3 separate regions of the Homo sapiens genome follow, and regions 2 and 3 are each linked to region 1. The links are contacts of gene promoters, found by promoter capture Hi-C in blood cells and fetal thymus (Javierre and others, 2016). All regions are on one chromosome and are shown on one strand. The core of a region is centred on a gene start or on the middle of the fragment in contact, and the rest is flanking DNA. Distances in the headings are between cores, read along the strand shown.

Region 1 (4,578 bases), core at 1,520-4,019:
GCTCCAGGTGTCTTGTTTTCATTTTATTTTATTTTATTTTATTTTATTTTATTTTATTTTATTTTATATTTCATTTCATTTCATTTCATTTTATATTTTGAGACAGAGTCTCACTCTGTTACCCAGGCTGCAGTGCAGTGGCCCCATCTCGGCTCACTGCAACCTCTGCCTCCCAGGTTCAAGTGATTCTCTTGCCTCAGCCTCCCAAGTAGCTGGGATTAGAGTTGCGTGCCACCACGCCTGGCTAATTTTTGTATTTTTAGTAAAGACAGGGTTTCACCACGTTGGCCATGTTGGTCTTGAACTCCTGACCTCAAGTGATCTCCCCGCCTCAGCCTCTCAAAGTGCTGGGATTACAGGTATGAGCCACCATGCCCGGCCTAGGTGTCTACTTTTGGTTTGTCATCTCCATAGTCCTCATCCTCTTAAATCATCAGAGCAGGAGGGGCTTCCCCGGGAGATGATATTATTCATCCATAAAAAAGAATAAAGTACTGACATGTGCTACAACACAGATGAACCTTGAAAACATCACGCTGAGTGAGAGAAGCCAGACACAAAAAGCCACGCATTGTATGATTCCATTTATATGAAATATCCACCGTAGGTCAAACCATAGACACAGAAAGTTGATTCATGGTTGGTAGGGGCTGGGGAGGAGGGAATAGGGAGTTTCTGCAAATGGGTATGGGATTTCTTTTCAGGGTGGCAAAAACATTCTGGAGATAGATAGTGATGGCTGCACAACTTTGTGAATATACTAAAAACCACTGTGAAACTGTACACATTTAAAAGGTGAATTTTATGGTATGTGAATAATATCTCAATAAGCCTCTTACTAAAGATTTTTCAGGATTAAAACGTCTAAAAACACTCCGGGGGTAGAAAAAAGAACAATGACGAAATTAAAAGGTGGAGAAGCCCTAACCTAGCATCTGCACATAGGGAGCATCACATACACACTTTAGTGGTGTTCTTTTGATTATTATTACAGATCTGTAATCTGTTTGCTGAAGCCCTTGGGACCAAGTATGTTTCTGAATTCAAAATTGTTGGGATTTTAGAAAGATAATGTGGTGCACATACATACAACAGCCCCAGCAAGGTTTGGGACAGCACCCAGGAAACCAACATTAACATTTCTGCAAGGAAACAGATGCGCATTCACACTGAATGAAACCAATAAGGACGCTAGGTCCTCACTCTCTGCTGTGGTTTGAATGTGTGCCCTAAAGTTCGTATGTTGGAACCTTAATTCTCAATGCAACAGTGTTGAGAGATGGAATCTTTCATGAGGCCTCTGCCCTCATGAATGGATTCATGCTGTTATTGCAAAAGCGTGTACCTGATAAAGGAATGAGTTTAGCTTCTTTCTCTTCTCTCTCTCCAGCTCTCGTGCCCTTCTGCCCTCCACCGTGGGATGATATAGCAAGAAGACCCCCACCAGATGCAACCCCTTGAACCTGGACTTCCCAGCCTCCAGAACTATGAGCCAAATGAATTTCTTTTCTTTATAAATTACTCAGTCTCAGGTATTCTGTTGTAGTAGCACAAAACTAAGACACTGCCCAGTATACCAGCTACATGTGACTATCAAGCCCCTGAAATATGGATAGTCTGAATTGAAATGTGCTTAGCCTGGCATGGTGGCTTACATCTGGAGTGCCAGCTCCTTGGGAGGCTAAAGCGCGAGGGTCCCTTGAGCCTAGGAGCTCGAGACTGCAGTGAACTATGACCACATCACTGCACTCCAGCCTGGGCAACAGAATGAGACCCTGTCTCTTAAAAATAAAATAACAAAATAAAACAATTGTGTTGTGAACATAAACTACTCATCAATTTCAAAGACTTAGTATGACAAAAATAAAAACAAATCATTTCTATATTGATTACAGATGTAATTATAATATTTTAAATAACTGGGTCAAATAAACTAGATCGTTAAAATTAACTTCACCTGCTTATTGCTGCTTTCTTAGATGTGGCTACTAGGAAATTTCGAAATGCACACATGGCTCATCTTTGTAGCTCCAATTCTATTTCAATTGGACGGTGCCCCTTTAAGGAAGTTTGCCTCAGTTCAAGGCAGACGTGCCCTCAAATGAGTTTGTTTCAAATTTATTTAAAACAAAGCCTGGGTGTGGTGGCTCCAGCCTGTAATCCCAGCACTTTGGGAGCCCAAAGAAGGTGGCTCGCTTGAGGCCAGCGGTTCAAGACCAGCCTGATCAACATAGTGAGACCCTGTCTCTATTAAAAAAAGCTACAAAAATTAGGCAACATGGTGGCACATGCCGATTGTCCCAGCTATTCAGGAGGCTGAGGCAAGAGGATCTATTGAGCCCAGGAGGTCAAGGCTACAGTGAGCTGTGATCAAACCACTGCACTCCAGCCTAGGCAAGAGAATGAGACCCTATTTCAAAAAACAAAGAAAAAAAAATTCGTTTTGCTTTCAGAGCTTTTGGATTTCTGGGTTGAATTGCAATTGCTAGATCAAAGATCTAGCCTGTGAGCCTGGAGAATCAGGGCTGAGAAGGACAGGGCGGGCAGCCCTCTCCCCAGCATCCCGTGGACAGCAGGCTCTACGCCCAGGACTGGCCTAACCTCCGCTGCCTAACCGTCATCCCCCTGCAGCCACCCTTCCCAGAGTCCTTTGCCCAGGCCACCCCAGGCTTCTTGGCAGCCCTGCCGGGCCACTTGTCTTCATGTCTGCCAGGGGGAGGTGGGAAGGAGGTGGGAGGAGGGCGTGCAGAGGCAGTCTGGGCTTGGCCAGAGCTCAGGGTGCTGAGCGTGTGACCAGCAGTGAGCAGAGGCCGGCCATGGCCAGCCTGGGGCTGCTGCTCCTGCTCTTACTGACAGCACTGCCACCGCTGTGGTCCTCCTCACTGCCTGGGCTGGACACTGCTGAAAGTAAAGCCACCATTGCAGACCTGATCCTGTCTGCGCTGGAGAGAGCCACCGTCTTCCTAGAACAGAGGCTGCCTGAAATCAACCTGGATGGCATGGTGGGGGTCCGAGTGCTGGAAGGTGAGTGAGCCCCAATTCCTCTGGCTGGACACTGGGAAGCTAGCTCTCAGCTTTGTCCCCTGCCCTGCTCTGTACGCCTGGGACCTGGCAGACTCCTGGCCCCAGTATAGCCTGCCTCGGCTATAAGGAGAGAGGAGGCCAGGGGCTGGATCTTCCTGGCGGCTGTGGCCCAGCTAACTGTTACGCAATTTTTTAGAAGTAGGAAAGATTTAAAGGCAACATGGGAAGGGATTTGGGAATTATCTTTTTCTCAGAATGAAATGATCCATTTGACAGCCCCTCCTCACAACGCCACGAACAAGGGGAGCAGGGAGAGTGCCCCGTTAACAGATATTTGTGGGAAGACCCCTCCCCTTGAATGAGGTGGCTGTGGACAAAACTGAGGACCCTCAAGATCGGGTTCCCACCCCACTTCCTCCACTTGCAGCCAAAGTCTCCTGAAGGTTCTGCAAAAACAGTCAAGTGTTTGTTTAGCTTTGAGAGCTATAAGATCCCCAAGAAGGGGGCTGGAGACAGGCCAAGGTAAACACACACATGCGCACATCATGCACACACACACAAGCACACATGCACGCACGCACACACACATGCACATCACACACACAAGCACGCATGCACGCATGCACACAAGCATATCACACACACACACAAGCACACAGGTGGCTCCCACAGGGCTGGGTGCTTCCTGGGGCGCATGTGATAGCAAAAGCTGTAGTTCACTAAGTATCTGCTCAATGTGGGCACAACCCAGGTGCATTGCATGGGGTACTTCAGTGCCCTCTCCCCGTCATCCCTGAGGTTACACCCATTATTATTATCCTCTTTTAGCAAAGAAGGGAGGGGGTTCTCTTAATCATGACTGGGCAGCATTCACTGGGAAAGCGGCCCCACCTAACAGCCTCAGACCAGGGTCCCCACTCCTTGGCAGCTGCAGTGAGCCCGGCTTCTCCACCCACGCCACATCCCACATCCACTGCCCCTTCTCCTCTCAATAATCTTGCTCCATAACAGATTCCCTAGGAATTCAGTGCTTAATACAACCACACCCGTGAACTGTGCCCAGAAGGGAGCAAAGGCAGTGCCAGTGCCTAGAACAGAGCTTCAGAACTGGACTGCCCAGGTTCAAATCCTGGATCTCCCCCAACTGGCTGCATGGCACTGAGTTAACTGCTCTCGTGGAGTTTTGGTTTCCTCATCCTTCAGCTGCAGCTGGTGGATGGGAGTATCACACGATCATGCACATGTGTCTCATGAGATTGTGTGTATATGTCATCTTACCAGTGGGGCTCAGTACTTGTCAGCCATTACTGTTTCCATCTATCAAAGCATTGAGCATCCTTGACTAGCAGCAACGGCTTCCTCACCTGTGTCTCTCTAAACAATGAGCTCCCAGTGGGCAGGGTCTACGTCCCATTGCAGTGGTCCCCAACCTTTTTGACACCAGGGACTGGTTTTGTGGAAAGCAATTTTTCCATGGACTGAGGTGGAGGGGAGGGTTTCAGGACAATTCACGTGCATTAAATTTATTGTGCACTTTATTTTTTATTTATTATT
Region 2 (4,578 bases), core at 1,021-3,520, 250 kb after region 1:
TGCTGCTGGTCAGAGCTACGCTGTGAGAACCACTGGCTGAGTAGAATCATGATGAGGCCCCAAAATTGGCCATGGTGGGGCAGGTGGGGGAAGGGAGATGAAAGTGCTTGGGGATCCTCACTGAGCACTTGCTGGCTGTCCTGCACCCTGCCCGGTGTGGGTGGGGCGATCCTGGACATGCTCCCAGACCCAACTTGCGCCCAGCCTTGCCTCTGTGCCTGCTCTGTAGGCATGTCTCCTCCGCAGAGTCTTGTTGGCAAAAAGATACCTTTTCTAGGAAAACACGTTCTCTGGAGCAAGTTAGCTAAAGTCAGTTTCCAGTTTGTACCTTTCACATGGTCTTCCCCAGACTAAAAACAGTGCATCTTTTACATGATATTTTTGTACTGTTTAAATCACTAATGCTACCAGTTATTTTTGGTGAACTTGTCTCTGTAGAGTGGAGGAGATAAGGGCATATTAGGTGCAAACAAAGGGGAGGAGGATTGTGTTAAAAAAATAAAAATAAAAAAATGATCAGGATAGGGTGAGGACAGAGTCCTGATGTTTTTACCCAACACATTTATTGGCCCATTAGTCAAACTTTTAATAAAAGAGTATGAAGCCAGCATCAAAACCAACCAGTTTTGTTGTTGCCCAACCCACCTTAATCCACATTTCCATTTTGTCTGAGACACAGTGTGAAGGACTCTCAGTTGCCATATTAAAAATCCAGAACCTTGACCTGGGCATGGTGGCTCATGGCTGTTATCCCAGCACTTTGGGAGGCCAAGGTGGGCGGATTACCTGAGGTCAGGAGTTCAAGACCAGCCTGGCCAACATGGTGAAACCCTGTCTCTACAAAAATTAGCCAGGCATGATGGTGGGTGCCTTTAATCCCAGCTACTTGGGAGGCTGAGGTGGGAGAATCGCTTGAACCCGGGAGGTGGAGGTTGCAGTGAGCCAAGATCGCACCACTGCACTCCAGCCTGGGCAACAGAACGAGACTGTGTCTCAAAAAAATCCAGAAGCTTTATCCCAGGTCTACTGGACTTCCTAGAACACCAAGAAAGGAAAGGGAATTCGCCTGTCATGATTTAGAATCATGGGGGAATATTGTACTACCCAAATAATGAGTGACAAAAAGGTACCTCCTTGTTTTTAAGCCACAACTTGAAGCAGTTAGCAAGGAGGTCTATTTTGGTGAGAAAGTTGGTGGGTTCCATTTTCAACATGTGATTCAAATTACTTAATACAGGCTGGGACAGGGAGAATGTGAGCAGCTGATATTCCAGCTGAGATTAGGGGTCCATTTGTAGAGATGGTTCCAGAAGACCAAAACTATGGAAAGAATGACAGGGTCAAAGTGGAGGAGCTGCCGGGGACATCCAGCAGTCAGAGAATTTCTGAATTGAAAACATGGCCAAGCGCAGTAGCTCATCCTTGTAATCCCCACACTTTGGGAGACCAAAGCAGAAGGATCCCTTGAGGCCAGGAGTTCATGACCAGCCTAGGAAATACAGCAAGACCCCGTCTCTACAAAAAAATTTTAAAACTTAGCCAGACATGGTGGCATGCACCTATAGTCCTAGCTGCTCAGGTGGACTGAGGTGGAAGGATCACTTGAGCCCAGGAGTTTGAGGCTGCGGTGAGCTATGATCACCCCCCTGCACTCCAGCCTGGGAGACAGCATAATGCTGTCACTAAAAAAAGAAAAAAGGCTGGGTGCAGTGGCTCACGCCCATAATCCTAACACTTTGGGAGGCTGAGGTGAGAGGATTGCCTGATACCAAAAGTTCGAGACCAGCCTAGCCAACATAGCAAGACCCCCCCATCTCTCTTTTTAAATAAATAAATAAATAAAAATTAAAAACTATAAAAACAAGAACATGATATGATCAGAAATGAGGAAAGGCATTCTTTTGCACCATTGTCACTTGCAAAGAGAGGTGAAGAAGTACAAGAATCAAGAAAAGACACTTTGGCAAGCTAAAAGTCATCCGTAAAAGCATGTTGAAATAGCAGCAGTGGCATCCAGCCCCCAGCTCTCAGGGTTGCAGGAAGGAGCAGGCGGAGTATGTGAATGTGTGTGGAGGAGACTGGCCAATGAGTGCTTCTGTCACAAGGATTGGGAAGGACCTGTGGAAGGAAGGGCTGGGGGAACAGTGAGAGGTTTGGGGGAAGGCAGGCATGGGGAGAAGGATTTGTGGACTGGGAAAGATTGGGTTCCAAGCTCAGGTGAAGGACTTAGCTTTGGAGAGGAGAGGCAAGGCCCATTCTGTTGATAACGGGAAGACGGGAAAGGTAGGGTGTGGGTAGAGAATTGAAGTTGGGAAAGAGAGGTGAAAATTGCCGTCCTGGTTCATGCAGTCAAGGAAGTTGCCTGGCTCTAAACACAGTGCTTCAGTGACTTGTGGTGGATTCTGTTGGGCTTTAAAGTAGTATCCAGAGCCGGGTGCAGTGGTTCACACCTGCAACCCCAGCACTTTGGGAGGCTGAGGTGGGCGGATCCCTTAAGCCCAGGAGTCCAAGACCAGCCTGGGTAACATGGCAAAAGCCCATCTCCACAAAAAATTAGGTGTGCTGACAGATGCCTGTAGTCTCAGCTACCCAGGAGGCTGAGGGGGAAGGATTACTTGAGCCCAGGAGGTCGAGGCTGCAGTGAGCCATGATTGCACCACTACACTGCAGCCTGGGCAACAGAACAAGACACTATCTCAAAAAATAAGTAAAGTGTGAGGCCGGGCATGGTGGCTCACGCCTGTAATCCGAGCACTTTGGGAGGCCGAGGTGGGCAGATCACGAGGTCAGGAGTTTGAGACCAGCCTGGCCAACATGGTGAAACCCTGTCTCTACTAAAAATACAAAAATTAGCTGGGCATGGTGGCGTGCGCCTGTAATCCCAGCTACTCAGAAAGCTGAGGCAGGAGAATCGCTTGAACCCAGGATGCAGAGGTTGCAGTGAGCTGAGCTCGCGCCATTGCACTCCAGCCTGGAACAGAGCAAGACTGTCTCAAAAAAAAAAAAAAGGGCAGCAAGGGGACTTTGCCCTGGGAGACTGGCCCTGAACCATACACATCATACTTTTTTCTGTGACAGTCAGGGGTTTCAAAATGCCTGTTTACATCCTGGGACAGCTTTAGACCATGGCATAAGAGAAGACCCATGTGCATGACGCCCCTGGCTCTGCAGGTAGATTGGCCACTGCTGTTTCTGGCAGTCTGAATTCCCCTACCCCAAGCTGTATAAGGGAGCGAGCCTTGTGCTGCATGGAATCATCATCACCGTGACCCTCCCTTTCCACCCTGAACTCATCAGTCTCTCTCTGTTTCAGGATAGGATTTTTGGGCCTTGGTCTCATGGGAAGTGGAATCGTCTCCAACTTGCTAAAAATGGGTCACACAGTGACTGTCTGGAACCGCACTGCAGAGAAAGTAAGCATTCAGGGGTGGTGCCTGTTGGATCGGTGGAGTCTGGGGTAACCCTAAGAGTGGACATCTCCCCCTGTTGTCTCAGCGTTCTGCGTGCAATAGAATAGAAGCCAAGCTTTTAGTCCAGGCAGGTAGAGATGTAGATGCCTAAACTTAGGATGTTATTATAAAACCTAAACATTTGCCTGGCGCGGTGGCTCACTCCTGTAATCCCAGCACTTTGGGAGGCTGAGGCGGGCGGATCATGAGGTCAGGAGATCGAGACCATCCTGGCTAACACGGTGAAACCCCGTCTCTACTTAAAATACAAAAAATTAGCCGGGCGTGGTGGCGGGCACCTGTAGTCCCAGCTGCTCCAGAGGCTGAGGCAGGAGAATGGCATGAACCCGGGAGGCAGAGCTTGCAGTGAGCCGAGATCGCGCCACTGCACTCCAGCCTGGGCGACAGAGCAAGACTCCGTCTCAAAAAAAAAAAATAGAAAATACAAAAATTAGCTGGGTATGGTGGCGTTCACCTGTAGTCTCAGTTACTCAGGAGGCTGAGGCAGGAGAATAACTTGAATGTGGGAGGCAGAGGTTGCAGTGAGCTGAGATCGTGTCACTGCACTCCAGCCTGGCAACAGAACAAGACTCCGTCTCAAAAAAAAAAAAAAATGGCACAATCTCGGCTCACTGCAACCTCCACCTCCCAGGTTCAAGTGATTCTCCTGCCTCAGACTCCCAAGTAGCTGGGATTACAGGCGCGCGCCACCACACCTGGCTAATTTTTTGTATTTTTAGTAGAGAAGGGGTTTCACCATGTTAGCCAGGCTGGTCTCGAACTTCTGACCTCAGGTGATCCACCCGCCTTGGCCTCCCAAAATACTGGGATTACGGGTGTGAGCCACTGTGCCTGGCCCACAAGTAATTTTTTAAAAGAAAACCAGAAGAAAATAAATACTAACATAGATCTTTGTAAATCTAGAACTAATAAAAATCACACAAGAAGATCAGTTGATTTTTTTTGATAATACTCCCCAACAACAAAAAAATAAAATTCAAAGGAATACCAACTAGAAGTACTTGTAGCAAATACGTAAGAAGGGTAATATGTTGCTTTTATTAAACATAGTTTGATAATTAAGACAAAAAAATTAGTAGGGTGCTAATTAATAATTTTAGATCTAAGA
Region 3 (4,578 bases), core at 1,317-3,816, 150 kb after region 1:
GGGGTTAAATATTTGGGGTGAGACTCACCGCCTCTAGGTGCAGCTGGCCTGGCAGATGGTCAGTGACTGGGGTGGGAGTGTGGGGGCCCAGAAACTCACATTCTCCATGTGGCCTGCCCAACCAGGAAGTGGGGGGTTAGGGAATGAGGGAGGAGTCGGGTGGACCCCTGACCTGGCTGTTCTAGAAGCCCACCTTATCCCTTCTTACCGAGATCCTCCATCCAAAGCCCCCCACTGCTAAGCCTTCCTGGCCACCCCGCCAAACACTGGCTTTCTCCACTGCAGGACTTGTCAGTGCCTTTGCTGGCTCATGAACATATCAAGGATGGGGTTTTCCTAAGTGCCTTGACCAAGGAAGAATAAGACTTGTAAGAGTTGGGTTCCTGGGACCCCACTTTGGGACAGGCTGCCCCCAGTTGACCTTGCAGAAGGTATGGCTTGGGTCCTGTTCCCTCAAGATCCCCCAGCTCCGGTGTATCCAGGTCTGCCACAAAGCTGGCCCTTAAGCAAGGTGTGGAACCTAGACGGATGGATCCCCAGCATGTTGGCTGCTGCCATTTCTGCCCCCAATGCCCCCAACATCAACAGCACCTGCATTGCTGGTCCATGACTCCGGTAGGTGTCCAGGTACCCTGGGGAACCTGCAAAAATAGTAATAATAATACAGCTTCCTGGGCCCAGCTCTGGAGACCTGGGTTCAGCAGGTCTGGGTTAGTGGCCGGGAATCTGAATTTTTCATGCTAGGCCCCAGAACCTTGATCTGGGGAGCATCACTCGAAAGGGCTGGTGGTCCCCTCTGCCTTGACGGTCAAGAACCCCGCCCTGGCCCACCCCACGGGACGTGCCAGGACCTGCCTCTCTCTATGGCGTGTCCTCATTGGAGCCTTCTGCACAGGAACACCAAATTCTTCCTTTTGCTTTAGCACCCAGCCGACACCACCTCCTCCAGGAAGCCTTCAGTGACCACCGCTGTCCCCACCCAGCCAGTCCAGAGGTTCCCCTGGGCATCCCCAGCCTCCAGGCCTGCCTCAGTCTCGTGACTGTTTCTATAAATACTGATTTCCTCCTGGTCTGTGGGGTGGATCAGGGAGGGAGAGGCTTGTCTTTGTGAGGTGCAGGGCCCGCACACAGCAGGTGCTTAATGAGTGTGAGTAGAAGGCAACTTCTGCGTGCCTAGCCACTCAGGCCCCACTGTGGGTCTTCAGTGGAGACAGGGGAGCTATCATCGCTGGCTAACTGGGTGACAATGGCCAAGTTGGTTTCCCTTTCTTTCTTTGTTTAAAGAAAACAACAGAAGGAGGCTGGGCATGGTGGCTCACACCTGTAATCCCAGCTACTCAAAAGGCTGAGGCAGCCGAATCACTTGACCCCAAGAAGTGGAGGTTGCAGCGAGCCAAGATGATACCACTGCACTTCCAGCCTGGGTGACAGAGTGAGACTCGGTCTCAAAACCACAGAGGCAGAGCTGGGTGATCTCTAAGGCTCCTTGACAACTAAAATCACAAACCTTTGTTCAGACTTATTCTGTGCCCGGCTCTATGCACAGTCCTTTGGTAGTGTAACCTCACTTCCATTCATAACCCCTGCCACCCTGGCCCCGGGAAAGGACTGTTACTCTAGTCCATCGGATTGGGAGACAGAGGCACAGATAGGCAAGGGAGCTGGGCCAAGTCACACAGCCACTAAGTGGCTGATGGGAGCCAAGATCTGAACCCACAGCTAACCCCAGGGCCAAAGTCTTAACTAACTCCCATTAGAGCATTTTCCAGAGTGGTCTGTCTGTGGTTCTGGGGGACGGGGGGCAGTAGACAAATGTGACAGGAGGGGACACAGAGACAGTGAGGGAGAGGGCCAGTCTGCTTTCAAGACTTTTTTTTCTTTTCTTGTTTTTTTTTTTCGAGATGGAGTCTCGCTCTGTTACCCAGGCTGGAGTGCAGTGGTGCAATCTCAGCTCACTGCCACCTCCACCTCCCAGGTTCAAGCAGTTCTCCTGCCTCAGCCTCCCGAGTAGCTGGGACTACAGGCGCATGCCACCACACCTAGCTAATTTTTGTATTTTTAGTAGAGATGGGGTTTCACCATGTTGGCCAGGCTGGTCTCAAACTCCTGATCTCAGGTGATTCGCCCGCCTTGGCCTCCCAAAGTGCTGGGATTACAGGTATGAGCCACCACACCGGGCCTCAAGTCTCTTTCAGGCGCTCTGAGAAGATCAGGAGAAAGGCTGGGCCTGACGCCACCACGGCTGTCACACCTCCTGACTTGTAACAGCGGGCAGCCCAGTGTCACCACGGAACCCAGTGCCACTGCGTTCCCATGAAATTTATTTTGGCAGCTAATTCACTCATGGTGAGGGCTTCTGATTTCTGATTAAAATGGGGAGAGAAGTTACCTTTGTAAACACATTTAACTCTAAAATAAAACGAGTAGGTTGAAAGAAAAATATCAGGTAATTAAAAATAAGACTGCTCACACAAAAGCTTGTTCCCGAACGTTCATAGCAGCGTGATTCTCACGATGGCCCAAAGGTGGAAACGGCCCAGATGGTTGTCAGCTGTTGAATGAATAAGCAAAATGTGAAGTAGCCACGTGATGGAATATTATTCAGCCATAAAAAGAATGAAGTTCTAATAGATGCTGCAATATGCACAAAGCTTGAAAACATTATGCTGAGAGAAGGCAGACGCAAAAGGCCACGTGTTGTGTGATTCTATTTATATGAAATGTCCAGAATAGGCAAATCCATAGAGAGAAAAAGTAAATTCCTGGTTGCCAGGGGCTGGAGCGGGTGGGGAATAGGGAGTGACAGCTTGTGGGTGTGGAGCTTTGGGGTGATAAAAATGTCTGGAATGAGATAGTGGTGATGGTTGCACGATTCTGAATGTGTAGTACTAAAAGCCAGTGACTGTGTATTTTAAACAGGTGAATTTTACGGTATGTGAGTTATCTCCCAATTTTTCAAATATGGTGCGTTTTGCCAACATGGCAAAATAGAAGCATTAGAAGCTGGGTGTGCTGGTGGTGCCAGTGGTCCCAGCTACTCAGGAGGTGGAGGTAGGAGGATTGCTTGAGCTCAGGAGTTCGAGGCTATAGTGAACTATGATCACGCCACTGCACTCCAGTCTGGGTGACAGAGTGAGACCCTATCTCTCACAAAAAAATATGTAGTCGGGGCCTGGTGGCTGACATCTGTAATCCCAGCACTTTGGGAGTCCAAGGTGGACGAATTGCTTGAGCTCAGGAGTTCGAGACCAGCCTGGGTGACATGGTGAAACCCCTTCTCTACCAAAAGAAATGTAAAAGTTATGCAGGAGTGGTGGCATGTGCCTGTAGTCCCAGCTACTTGGGAGGCTGGGCTAGGAGGATTGCTTGAGCCTGGGAGATAGAGGCTGCAGTGAGCCATGACTGTGCCGCTACACCCCAGCCTGGGCAAGAGTGTGAGACTCCGTCTCAATAAAATGAATGAATGAATGAATGAATGAACGAATGAATGAATAAAAATAAAAAATAGAAGCATTAGAGAGAATGATCAAAGTGGAGGCTGGGCGGGCGCGGTGGCTCACGCCTGTAATCCCAGCACTTTGGGAGGCCAAGATAGGTGGATCACTTGAGGTCAGGAGTTCAAGACCAGCCTGGCCAACATGGTGGAACCCCATCTCCACTAAAAATACAAAAATTAGCCAGGCTTGGTGGTGCATGCTTGTAATCTCAGCTACTGGGGAGGCTGAGGCATGAGAATCATTTGAACCCAGGAAGTGGAGGTTGCAGTAAGCTGAGATCACGCCACTGCACTTTAGCCTGGGTGACAGAGCAAGACTCCATCTCAAAAAAAAAAAAAAAAAAAAAAAGGAGGCTGACCGCCTGCCAGGCGCTGCCTTGTCTCTGTGGCTTTAGTGATGTTGCCCTATGGGAACAGCCCAACTACCTCAAAGGCTCTGTGGGCAGCTCCTGCTCAGAGCGTGGGGCCGGGGCCAGCCAGAGGATGGGGTGCTGGTGGGGACATAGCCCCCACCCACCAGGCACCCCGCCCATCTCCCCTCGGCTTCTGCCCGCAGCATCTCTAACAAGGAGCTCTCGGAGCTGATCGAGCAGCTGCAGAAGAATGCCGACCAGGTGGAGAAGAACATCGTGGACACAGAGGCCAAGATGCAGAGTGTGAGTGCCCCCACTCCCACTCCCACCTGGGTGCCCCGTGCTGCCAGCCCTGTTCAGGACCAGGATCTGTTTGGAATCGGTGATTCTCACCCAGGGGTGATTGTGGCCCCGAGGGAACATGCAGAGACATTTTGGTTGTCACTGCTTGGAAGGAAGGTCCTCCTGGCGTCCAGTTGGGGAGGGGAGACAGGGATGCTGCTGAACACCCTACCGTGCACTGTAGGGCAGGGGTGCCAAGGTCAGGAAGCCCTGCTCTGTGAGAGGAACCTGGCCATTGTCGTTAATACTAGTACCTCCCGGATACTAAGTTCCTCCCTCTTCCTGGGCCCTGTGGAAAGCGTCTCCTGCCTGGAGGAGTGCCATGGGGTCAGGCTCTATGGAAACAGCCCAGCCTTGTCCTTGCTGGGTGACCTTGGACAAGTGAGC

Evidence for each region. The method cuts DNA at HindIII sites, captures the fragments that hold promoters and counts their contacts. A CHiCAGO score of 5 or more calls a contact.
Region 2: a fragment that was not itself captured here is called in contact with the fragment with the promoter of C16orf89 in region 1 in 1 of 17 cell types (M2 macrophages); the score reaches 5.4 in M2 macrophages.
Region 3: a fragment that was not itself captured here is called in contact with the fragment with the promoter of C16orf89 in region 1 in 2 of 17 cell types (M2 macrophages and naive CD8 T cells); the score reaches 5.3 in M2 macrophages.

What each region holds. Positions count from the first base shown.
Region 1 is chr16:5,064,147-5,068,724 of GRCh38, reverse strand. C16orf89 (chromosome 16 open reading frame 89) reads left to right here and starts at 2,769. Exons shown (of 8, transcript NM_001098514.3): 1 at 2,769-3,024. The coding sequence starts at 2,817. The HindIII fragment of the contact is 15,659 bases long and covers 1-4,578 here.
Region 2 is chr16:4,816,433-4,821,010 of GRCh38, reverse strand. It overlaps GLYR1 (glyoxylate reductase 1 homolog), which reads left to right. Exons shown (of 16, transcript NM_032569.4): 10 at 3,314-3,413. Among named protein-coding and RNA genes, the nearest start is that of ROGDI, 16 kb to the right of the region's middle. The HindIII fragment of the contact is 2,515 bases long and covers 1,013-3,527 here.
Region 3 is chr16:4,910,424-4,915,001 of GRCh38, reverse strand. It overlaps PPL (periplakin), which reads left to right. Exons shown (of 22, transcript NM_002705.5): 2 at 4,053-4,152. It overlaps LOC124903637 (a long non-coding RNA gene), which reads right to left. Exons shown (of 3, transcript XR_007064965.1): 2 at 2,471-2,551; 3 at 554-641. Among named protein-coding and RNA genes, the nearest start is that of PPL, 24 kb to the left of the region's middle. The HindIII fragment of the contact is 174 bases long and covers 2,480-2,653 here.